Regions from separate parts of the Homo sapiens genome. Here region 1 is linked to region 2. Evidence: promoter capture Hi-C in 16 types of primary human blood cells and fetal thymus (Javierre and others, 2016). All regions are on one chromosome and are shown on one strand. The core of a region is centred on a gene start or on the middle of the fragment in contact, and the rest is flanking DNA. Distances in the headings are between cores, read along the strand shown.

Region 1 (5,216 bases), core at 659-3,158, 110 kb after region 2:
ATAGTATTCCATTTTCTGTGTATGTGTGTATATCACATTTTCTTTATCCATCCATTTGTCAACAGACACTTTGATTCTTTCGTATCTTGAGACTAATGTGAATATGCTGCAGTGAACATGGGGTGAAGATCTGTCTTCAAGATGGTGATTTTCTTTCCTTTGAACATATACCCAGAAGTGGGATTGCTGGGTCATATGGTAGCTCTATTTTTAATTTTTTGAGGAACCTACATACTGTTTTCCATAATGGCTGTACCAGTTTACATTCCCACCAACAGTGTGCAAGAGTTCCCATTTCTGTGCATCCTTGTTCTCACTTTTTAAAAGAGAAACTACCCTTCTATGGCCTTACTGAACAGTGACCATGTTTTGAACCACTTGATTCCTGTCTCCCGTCTCTCCCTCTTGCCACATCTGGAATGAGACATAATCCAAAGATGACCAACCTGTGGGCTTACCAACAACCTGTGGCTTGATTTGCAAAGTTTAACTCAGTCAGTTTTAAGTACTATGCATGTTGTCTAGATTGAAATTCCGACTTAGCCACTTGCTAGTTGTGTAACCTTAAGCAGGTTACCCAAAGTTCACTATGCCTCAGTTTCCTTCTCTGTAATATTAGATCCTATATAATGTGGTTTTGAGAATTAAAAATAGTTAAGTCCTTAGAACAGTATCTGGCTCATACTCAAAGCTTCATAAATGGTAGCCATTATTATTATTCTGGTAGGAATTTGGAATTAAGAAACTGAATAACTAAAAGAGTTACTAGTAGAAACTAAAGGTAGAGTGTCATGAGATAGAACAGTGGTTTTTATTCCTTTTTGGGGTCATTGCTTTCCTGAAGCATCTGATGAAAGTATGGACATTCCCTGCAGAAAAGTTCATAAGTATATATAAACAATAAAATCAAGGTTGAAAGCACCTGATGCAGAGAATGATGGAGAGGAGGCCACAGCAAGTCAGAGCCATGTGCAAGTCAGCCTTGAGAAGGAGCAGAAACTGCCACCAAAGCAGAGGGAACTGTTGAGTAAACGGAGGGGAATGGACTGAATGAAAAGGCAGAAGCAGAAGCTGGGAGATAGCCCTTCAGTTCCGGTCCAGTGATTTCTACCCCAGAATTCCTGTGAGATCTCTGTTTATCTCCTCACAGCCAACTTCCCTGCTTATAACCAAGCTAGCATAGCCTCCCTTCTTGCAATCACACTATCCAGACCGAAAAAAAAAAAAAAACTTGAAACCAACTTCTACATGATGAAGCATTATTGCTGTGTCATTTCAGATTTCTTTCAGCCAACATTATGATGTTTTCCTGTGGTGTGATTATATCAACAGCAAATGCTTTCAGAGTAAAGTGAATAGCCATCTGTAGTTACTTTTCAGCGGCTGCTAACTTCCTTTTTTGTAGATAGAACACTTTCCAGGCATATCCTAGTTTTTAACATTCCACTTTAAGGAAAAAGCAAGGAAGAAGTAACGTCAACCTATCTCTCTAGTAGAATTCTCTTTTATTTCTATTAATTTTTTAAAGTTTTTAAGCAGAAAATGAGGCAGAACTTCATAAGATTTTGTAGGTGAAAAGGATTTTAAGGAATTTTCCAGGCCCATTACATCCAAAGAAAACTGGACCCTGGTATCCTATTGCATACTTAGTCTAATTTAGTCCTCACAGTAACCTTATGTGATATAATACCCTTCCTTACAGATGAGGAAACAGGCTTAGAGAGATCTGACCCCTTGCCCAAGATCGCTATAGCAAGTGGTAGAACCAGGATTTGATCTCAGGGTTTTCTGACTACAAAGCCTATGCTGCAATGCTTCACTGGACTCTAAAACTTAGGCTAGAGAAGAGTGAGGCTTTCACTTTATTTCCCCCATTGGTCTCTCTCTCAGCAGCTCTTCTAGAAAAGAAGAATGGGAACTTGCAAGCCCCATTTTTTTGATCCTTGAGCCGAATGGGTCTTGAATGTGTCCATCGAGCATCTGCCTCCGTTGCAGTGTCATCTCAAGTGGTGGTACCTTCCCACTGGGCTGGAGCTACTATTGGATACTTAGCCAACCCTCCTTCCATAATGAGGCCTTCACATGGGACCACAGCTCAGCATTGCTGGGAAGAATGGTCAGAGACTGCAGGGGCAGCAGCGATCCACAGTTTGAACAGAAGCATCACTAAGACTTGTTTACAGACTATTTGCAGGATAGAGGTGTGGTTAAAAGCACTGGCTCTAGAAGTAGACTGCTTAGGTGAATCTCAACTCTTTCACAATACTTGTAGGGCAAGAACCTACTACCTCTTTTTTTTTTTTTTTTTTTTGAGACGGAGTCTCGCTCTGTCGCCCAGGCTGGAGTGCAGTGGCGGGATCTCGGCTCACTGCAAGCTCCGCCTCCCGGGTTCACGCCATTCTCCTGCCTCAGCCTCCCAAGTAGCTGGGACTACAGGCGCCCGCCACTACGCCCGGCTAATTTTTTGTATTTTTAGTAGAGACGGGGTTTCACCGTTTTAGCCGGGATGGTCTCGATCTCCTGACCTCGTGATCCGCCCGCCTCGGCCTCCCAAAGTGCTGGGATTACAGGCGTGAGCCACCGCGCCCGGCCCCTACTACCTCTTAAAGTCTCCATTTCTTTATCTGGAAAGTAAGATATTTCTTTAAAAGTGCATACCATATAGGGTTGTTGTGAAGATTAAATGTGATAATGCACGTAAACCACTTAGCTCAGTGCCTGGCATGGTAACGCTCAGTGAGTGTTGGCTATTACTATACTACTTGAAAACAGTTTAGAGAAAAAGCAAAGAAAGAGGAACATCAACCTCTACTGGATCCTTTTATTTTGGTTAATTTTGAGTTTTTGAACTGAAAACAAGTCATAAATGTATAGGCTTTTATAGCTGGGAAGGATTACTTTCCTTGAAAATGGTAACTCCTGTGTTTAGCTGACAAAACCAGTTTTTAAACTGCAGTCATTTTATGAGTGTAAAATATTACCTTCAAAAGGCATAGAATGTATATGCATTTTATTACTGTAATTAAGAGAGGTACAAATATGTTCTTGTTCCAAGTTTTTTGTTGCTAAACCATTAAATAATCTGGTGGTTGTTTTCCTGTTACTCAGCAACATAAAGAAGCTTCAGTCTTCAGTCTTCAGTCTTCATATCTTTTTAGAAATGCATAAAATTTGTAGATTGCTAATGTATTCTTGTAACATTACTGTTAGCCAGGCATGGTGGCTCATGCCTATAATCCTAACACTTTGAGAGGCCGAGGTGGGAGAATCACTTGAGGCCAGGAGTTCAAGACCAACCTGGGCAACATATCATGACCCTGTATCTACAAAAAAATTTAAAAATCACTGTGAAGTAGCTAGCAGATAATTACTATTTTTATTTTATTTATAGCAATACATCTAGTACCTCATTAAATAGAAATTTGAGGTACAAGTAGTTACTTGCCTAAGTTACATAATTTTTCCTCACCAAAAACTTTTTATTCTGTGGCATTTCTTACCGCTTGTCATCTTTTTCTTTAGTTAAAAACACTAATTTTTTTATTATTTAAAAAAATTCAAAAAGGGACTGTATTATATTGGAAGAAAGACTAAATCCTGTGTGTGTGATGAAAATGGATTAAGGTTTTGATGTTGAATTTTAAACTCATACTTATGCTACATCCAGGAATTTTTCATAATATCTGCAGTTGAGGTGAGTGCATCCATTTATTAGATTTAGACCACTTAATATAAAAACAATGAAGTAACTCAGGATTTACTAATTGTAAATACATAGTATAAATATGTTTAGAGAAAAATTATATGCAAATGTTTTTTCCCTTGCCTAGAATTTGAAGATATTGTTAAAACATGGCAATCTATTGCAAACTTGACTGTTTAGAATCAAACAGAATTATTTAAAATTCAGTTTTAATAGTACTACAGCAATCAGGTGGAGAGAAACCAAAATAATTATTAAAATGATTTCAAAGTTTAAGACGAAAAGTAAATAACATTGGACTAAGTTTCCAACCTTTCCCTTGGTCTAGGACATTAACCTTCTCTCTTTAGCTGCCTAACCCTTATGTATCCTTCTGGGCCCTGCGTTTGTCTCAGTGAAGCCTTTCCTAACCTGGTCAGGTCTCATGTTTAATACAGTGTTAGCACTGTGACCTCTTCCTATATCTCTTGTTTGTCTGGATTGTAATAATATGATTGTTGATAATTTTTTAAAACTGTGTTCCTCACTTGACTCTAAGTTTGATCAGGGCAGGAACCAAATGTGCCCTTTTCACTCCCAGACGCTTAATGCAGTGTTAAACATCACACTAGACCCACAGACATTCTCAATAAATATTTATTGACTGATAGATGAATGGATTCCTTGTTTAGGATATTGTAGCTGAGAGATATTGAGAAGAATCAACTGGCTACTTCCCACTGGTTTTCAGATCAGTTAGTTGCTACTAGGTTACCATGGATAAAGGATTTGTTTATAAGCCCAGAAGTTTAATTTTATCCTCTTGATTCTCAGTTATTGATACTAGTAAACAAACTTACAAGAAACTAATTTGTATGAGAGAATACAACCCCGAAATTTACATAGGAAAATGTACCTAGAAACTGGGGCTTGTGGTCTATACAGGTGTGGCAGAGACGGTAATCACTTACCTTGTCCTTCTCAACATTTCCTACCTAGCTTGCAGTTAGGTGGGGACCACAGGACTAACCTGTGGTATTGGCCAATGAACTCTGCACAGAGTGATGTGTCACTTTGAGGCCAAGGGAATTCAGAGCCAGCATGCTTTCTTGTTTGTTTCTTTTGCCAAAGCGTGTGCTCTTTAGGCCTCCTGTTCTCATTGGCAAATCTACGAGAGGGAAGAGGGCTGCCTGACCAGGATTGGACTTAAGCATAATAACTATGCTTTTAAAAAAGTTAAGAGAATAAGAACTAACATGAAAATTTAAAATATTTAAGTCATTATCATTGATATTTTTCCATACTTTAGAGATAGTTCTCACAATTCTTGAGCCACAAGTTTGGAATGATTTCTTCTACCACAATATTTTTGGTGTCTTCCTGGTAAATAAGGAAAATCCAGGTTGAAATGGGCAACTTCTATAAGTCAAGAGCTGGAAAATCTTTTTTCCTACAGTTTATGTATTTTAGCAGTAGTTTATGTAGCAAAATGGATCTCTTATGAGATAATTTTTTCATTAAGTATTTTTTCAAC
Region 2 (5,394 bases), core at 1,493-3,992:
CAAAAGGAAACATTTTAACTAGCAGTTGTTTTCGCAGCCATAAAAACATGCACAAAAGAACACCCATTAAAGAGAGGAAAGATGAAACTGTATTTACTGAGGATCTACTCTGCACCAGGTTCTTTGTTAACTTTTCCAACAACAATCTTATGAAGTGGACATATTAGTAATCCCATTTTACAGTTGAGGAAACTGAGGTTCAGGGAGGTTACAGAATTTTTCCAATATGCAGTCAGGAGATGGAAAGCCATCCACTTACACTGAGATGGACATTCACTCTACTTTTCCTTTCTAAGGAAGAAAGAAGACTGTAAAGGTTCTGGAAAGAGTTCTAATTGCCAGTTTCAGTGTTGGAAACTTAGAACTGGCATTAAAGTGTCCATTGCCTCTTGCCAGTTTTCACTCAGGAGACTGTTTCACATCTATTTCTTTTTCTCATAGAATTCTTTTATTTGTGTACAAAAGAAGAATGAAAGAAGTCCGTGCATTTGTATATACTAGTGCACAGAATTTTTTTAGTATGAACACATCGATAGGCACAAACACACATAAAATGTAACTTGATAACAGTAGCTGCCTCTGGAGAGAGGAACTGAAGAACGGGGTCTTTCACACCTATTTTAAACTCATAAGCCAGAAGAACAAGGGCATCTCACAGAAGTACATATTCACTGTTATTTCATTGTAGGCCTCCTGCTTGTCTCTCTTTGTGCAAGCATTCTCCCCTCTCTGGGCTTTAATTTCCCCACGTGAAAAAAAGACACTCTGACTTAGGAGTCCTTAGAATACCAGGAGGGTGCTTTTCCTCTATTTGCACTTAATTCTATCCTCCATGTCTCGGAGGGTCCAAACGCTCTCGGTCACCATTCACTAAGTATTTATTGATCATCTACTATGCATCATGCACTGGAGATTGGAGATAGATAGGACAGAGACCCTGATCTTAAGGAGTTGGTGGGAGAGGCAGACAGGTGACAAACCACTTCAACTCCATGTGCCTGTGCTTCCTGCAGAAGAACACAGAAAAGAGAGTAACTGTGCTTGCATGACACTTTCTGGGAACTGACACTTTCACAGGAGTGGTGAGGCTAGAGCTGGGTTTTGAAGGATGAGCAGGAGTTTGCCAGGTAGACAAGGTTGGGACATGCCTGGCTTAAAGTGCCAAGGAAGCCTTTCTCAAAGGGCTCACAGAGCTGCTCTCCCATCTCGAGCTCACTGGACCACAAGAAGGAGAAGGCTGGCATCTGCCTCTTCTGTGTGTGTCGCTGATTTTGTGAGAGGTAGGTGGGGGAGGGGGGTAATTCTCAGGGTCCGCCTCTGTTTCTCTACGTGTGTGTTTCTCTTTACTGTCCTTTTAACCACCTCCTTTTGGCCTTTGTGTTTTCTGCCTCCTCTTATGTCTGCCTTTATCTCTGTTTCTCTTTCCAGGCATCTTTCCCTCTGCTGCTCCCGTCTCCCGCTTCTCAGTGTCTCTCCTTCCCCTCCCCCGGTCCCCAGGCCTCCAAGACCACCCACTTGGTTTCCTCTCTCTTCCTGTGCGTTCTGAGTGTTTCTCTGATCGTGTTTCTCTGGGTGTGTGTGAGCTGAGTGTGCTTCTAAGTGTGTTTCTCCGTGTGTGTTTGTGTTAGTGTGCGTGAGCTGTTTTTCTGTTTCTGTGTGTGTGAGCTGTTTCTCAGAGTGTGCTTCTGAGTGTGTGAGCTGTGTTTCTCAGAGTGTGTTTCTGAGTGTTAGCTATGTTTCTGAGTGTTTTCTGAATGTGCTTGTGTGAGCTGTTTATCTTGAGTGTGCTTGAGTGGGTGTGAGCTGATTGTGTTTCTCAGAGTATGTTTCTGAGTGTGTGTGAGCTGAATGTTTCTCCGAGTGTGCTTGTGTGTGTGAGCTGAGTGTGCTTCTGAGCGAGTGTGAACTGTTTCTCGGAGTGTGTTTCTGAGTGTGTGTGAACTGAATGTTTGAGTGTGCTTCTGTGTGTGAGCTGAGTGTTTATCTTGTGTGCCTCTGAGTGCGTGTGTTTCTGAGTGTGTGTGAACTGAATGTTTCTGAGTGTGCTTCTGTGTGTGAGCTGAGTGTTTATCTTGTGTGCTTCTGAGTGCGTGTGTTTCTGAGTGTGTGTGAACTGAATGTTTCTTAGTGTGCTTGTGTGTGTGACCTGAGTGTTTATCTTAAGTGTGCTTCTCAGTGCGTGTGAGCTGAGTGTGTTTCTCGGAGCGTGTGTTCGTGGTCCTTCTCTGCAGTCTGCGTGGCGTTTCTTTGTGTTTTTCTTTCTCTATTCTTCCCTGCGTACTGAAGAGTAAGTTTTCCTGTTTTTCTCCGTCTCTTTCTCTCTCCCTTACTTTCCCCCTTCCCCTCCGGTTCCAGAACCACAAGGACAGAACAGACCCAAGACCCTACCCGCTTCCCCGTGCTCGTCCACCCAGGACGCCCACTCTGTCCCCGGGAGGGAGGGACCCCCAGCCCGCCCGGGACGCGCCGCACGGGCCCCGGAGCGCTCCGGGGCGCGGCTCCTACTCCTTTCCCCAACTTCGGGCGCGCGGCCCCGCGGCAAGAACAAAGCTGCGGCACCCGCCTCCCCTCTCCCCGGCAGCCGGGCCAGGCCCCGCGCCCCCGCGTCCCCTTCCCCGACTCGCCGCGGCCCGCCCGGCCCGGCGGGGCTCACCCACCTCAGGCTGTGGCTCCCGGGCGCATCCCGCGACTGCCCCGCCGATGGCAAAGTCCGGGCGCGGGCGCGGGCCTGCAGCGGAGCATGCCGGGAAGCGCCGCGGCCCTAGGAATCCAGCCTCGCGCCCCCGCGCCCCGGCCCCCGGCCCCCGGCCCGCGCCAAATCCCCGCCGCCAGGCGCCGCCGTCACCGCCAGGCCCCCCGGCGGCCGGGGCAGCTGGGAGGCGGGCCCTGGCGACCCAACACCCCTTCCTCGCGCCCCCGCGGTGGCCCGTCCGGGCGGCAGACGGAGAGGGGAGCGGAGGGTCCCTGCCTGCGCCCCGCCCCGGGCTGGCGGTCCCAGGCGGCGAGCGCGGATGGGTACCGCAGGGGGGCTGGCGGCGGAGCCAGTGTGCTCCGCCACGGACTGTCCCATTGAAACCCTGCCTCTGCCACTCACTAGCTATGGACAACTTAGTTCAGCCTTTGTGCCTCGGTCTGTAAAACGGGGCTGCTGCTTGTCAGCATCCTCAGAGTTGGTATTAGGAATGATGGGATGCAGGATGCATCGGACTGCCTGGCCCAGGGTAAAGAGTGAATCGAGGGTCGCTCTTATTTACAGCCTGACCCACGGGTCAGTGAGAAGCAGGCCCACCCCTGGCGACTGCCTAGCCAGGGGCAAGAGTACAAATGCAGAGCCCTTGCTAGTAGTCTTGCTGCTTCTATTCCCACACGACTCCATCCCATACATACTGAAGGGGGTCTACTGGTTCAGGCAAACACACACCCCCTACCCTGCCATCCTTCATTCTAACGATACTCAGGCCAGGCAGGGCAGGCTGCCCTGGGTGGATGGAAGTCAGACCTTGGAAGCAGGCTCAGGGCTGTTTACACAGGGATTTCCGGAGTCCAGGGTACCAGGAGCATGATCTAGAAGGGAACATACGCTCCAGCTGGAGTGGGCCAACTAAAGCACGGGGTTCAGGGCAGGATCCCAGTGGTCCAGGTCTGAGGTCAGTATCGGTGACAGTTAACAAAGGATACAGATTGGGTCCTAGGCCGCTTGACACAGGGTCTGCAAACTGGTACCCCCAAGGCCACATCCAGCCCACAGAGGTGGTTTTTTTGGTTCATACTTTTGTTGTTTTATTTTAATTTTTTTGAGACAGAGTCTCAGTCAGTCGCCCAGGCTGGAGTGCTGTGGCACAGTCTTGGCTGTTTACGGGTGGAGGGTGTCCAGGTTCTTGCCTTTATTTATTTATTTATTTATTTATTTATTTATTTTTTGAAACAGAGTCTGGCTCTGTTGCCCAGGCTGGAGTGCAATGGCACGATCTCAGCTCACTGCAACCTCTGCCTCCTGGGTTCAAGCGATTCTCCTGCCTCAGCCCCCCAAGTAGCTGGGATTACAGGTGTGCGCCACCACGTCCCACTAATTTTTTTTGTTATTTTTAGTAGAGACGGGGTTTCGCCACGTTGGCCGGGCTGGTCTGGAACTCCTGACCTCAGGTGATCCACCCACCTCAGCTTCCCAAAGTGCTGGGATTATAGGCATGAGCCACCGCACCCGGCCTGTTCTTGTCATTTTGAACAAAGAATTAGACAAAAGGCACAAGCAAAGCAAGTAAAGAAAGAATGAAGCAACAAAAGCAGAGATTTATTGAAAACAAAAGTGCATTCCACAAGGTGGGAGCAGGCCCCTGCATATGGGCTCAAGAGCCCCTGCTGTAGAATCTTCTGGGGTCCAAATACCTCCTAGAGGTTTCCCATTGGCCACTTGGCGTTCACCCCATGTAAATGAAGTGGTGCCACAATTAGTCTGATTGGTTGTGGAAAGCAACCAATCAGAGGCTGAAGTGAAGTTACAAAGGTTGCACTCCTATGCAAAAGAAGATTTGGCCCGCAATCAGTCTGATCGGTTACTTTCCACAACCAATCAGAGGCTAAAGTGAAGTTACAAAGTTACACTCCTATGCAAAAGAATATTTGGCCGCAATCAGTCTGACTGGTTGCTTTCCACAACCAATCAGAGGCTGAAGTGAAGTTACAAAGTTACACTTCTATGCAAACGCAGGATTGGTTGCGGAAAGGCAATCAGAGGTACTTTCAAAAGATTTTCCATCTGCCAAGCAGAAAGTGGGGAGTGGGGGTTGCAAAGGGAGTAGTCTCTGGTCCGTTTGTTACTTAGGTGCGGAAAGTTGGGGTTTTCCTTTTGATTTAGTTCTAGGAAGTCAGGTGAACCCTTAGGTTTCCTGCCTCCAGACCCTATTCTCCTGCCTCATCTCTCTCCTGAGAGACATGACCCCCATAAATCTTTATGGGATGCAGAGGAACTGTAACTGCTTTATGCCAACTTGGGGCGTAGTTCCTACCTACTGGAGATCATGGAACTCTTGCCCTACTCTGTCTAGTGGAGACAGTGTGGCATCCTGATGGCCAGGGGTGGTGTCTTCACTTGGAACTGACTGGAAACTTTGTCACATGATCATCTGAAGCTTGATGGTCTCTATGTGAAAGGAAATGAATATGGTTAAAAGATTTAACAGGAACTTCAGGGGGTGGATACTTATGCTGTCAGGAATGTTCATTATGGAGATGAATTGAAACATTCTGCTAATTACTACAAAGGAAGTGATTCCATAAGTTTGGAAGAAGGCAATAAAAAAATGGCCACTATTATCCAGAGCACTTCCACGTTTTATTAAGTACCTTATCTCCTGGCCTGATTTGGGGTTGCTGGGATTGGCCAAGACTCAGCTA

Evidence for each region. The method cuts DNA at HindIII sites, captures the fragments that hold promoters and counts their contacts. A CHiCAGO score of 5 or more calls a contact.
Region 1: a fragment that was not itself captured here is called in contact with the fragment with the promoter of TMEM98 in region 2 in 2 of 17 cell types (naive CD4 T cells and non-activated CD4 T cells); the score reaches 5.3 in naive CD4 T cells.

What each region holds. Positions count from the first base shown.
Region 1 is chr17:32,815,221-32,820,436 of GRCh38, reverse strand. All of the region lies in intron 1 of MYO1D (myosin ID), which reads left to right. Among named protein-coding and RNA genes, the nearest start is that of MYO1D-DT, 59 kb to the left of the region's middle. The HindIII fragment of the contact is 2,430 bases long and covers 694-3,123 here.
Region 2 is chr17:32,925,501-32,930,894 of GRCh38, reverse strand. TMEM98 (transmembrane protein 98) reads right to left here and starts at 2,742. Exons shown (of 8, transcript NM_015544.3): 1 at 2,658-2,742. The HindIII fragment of the contact is 5,709 bases long and covers 1-5,131 here.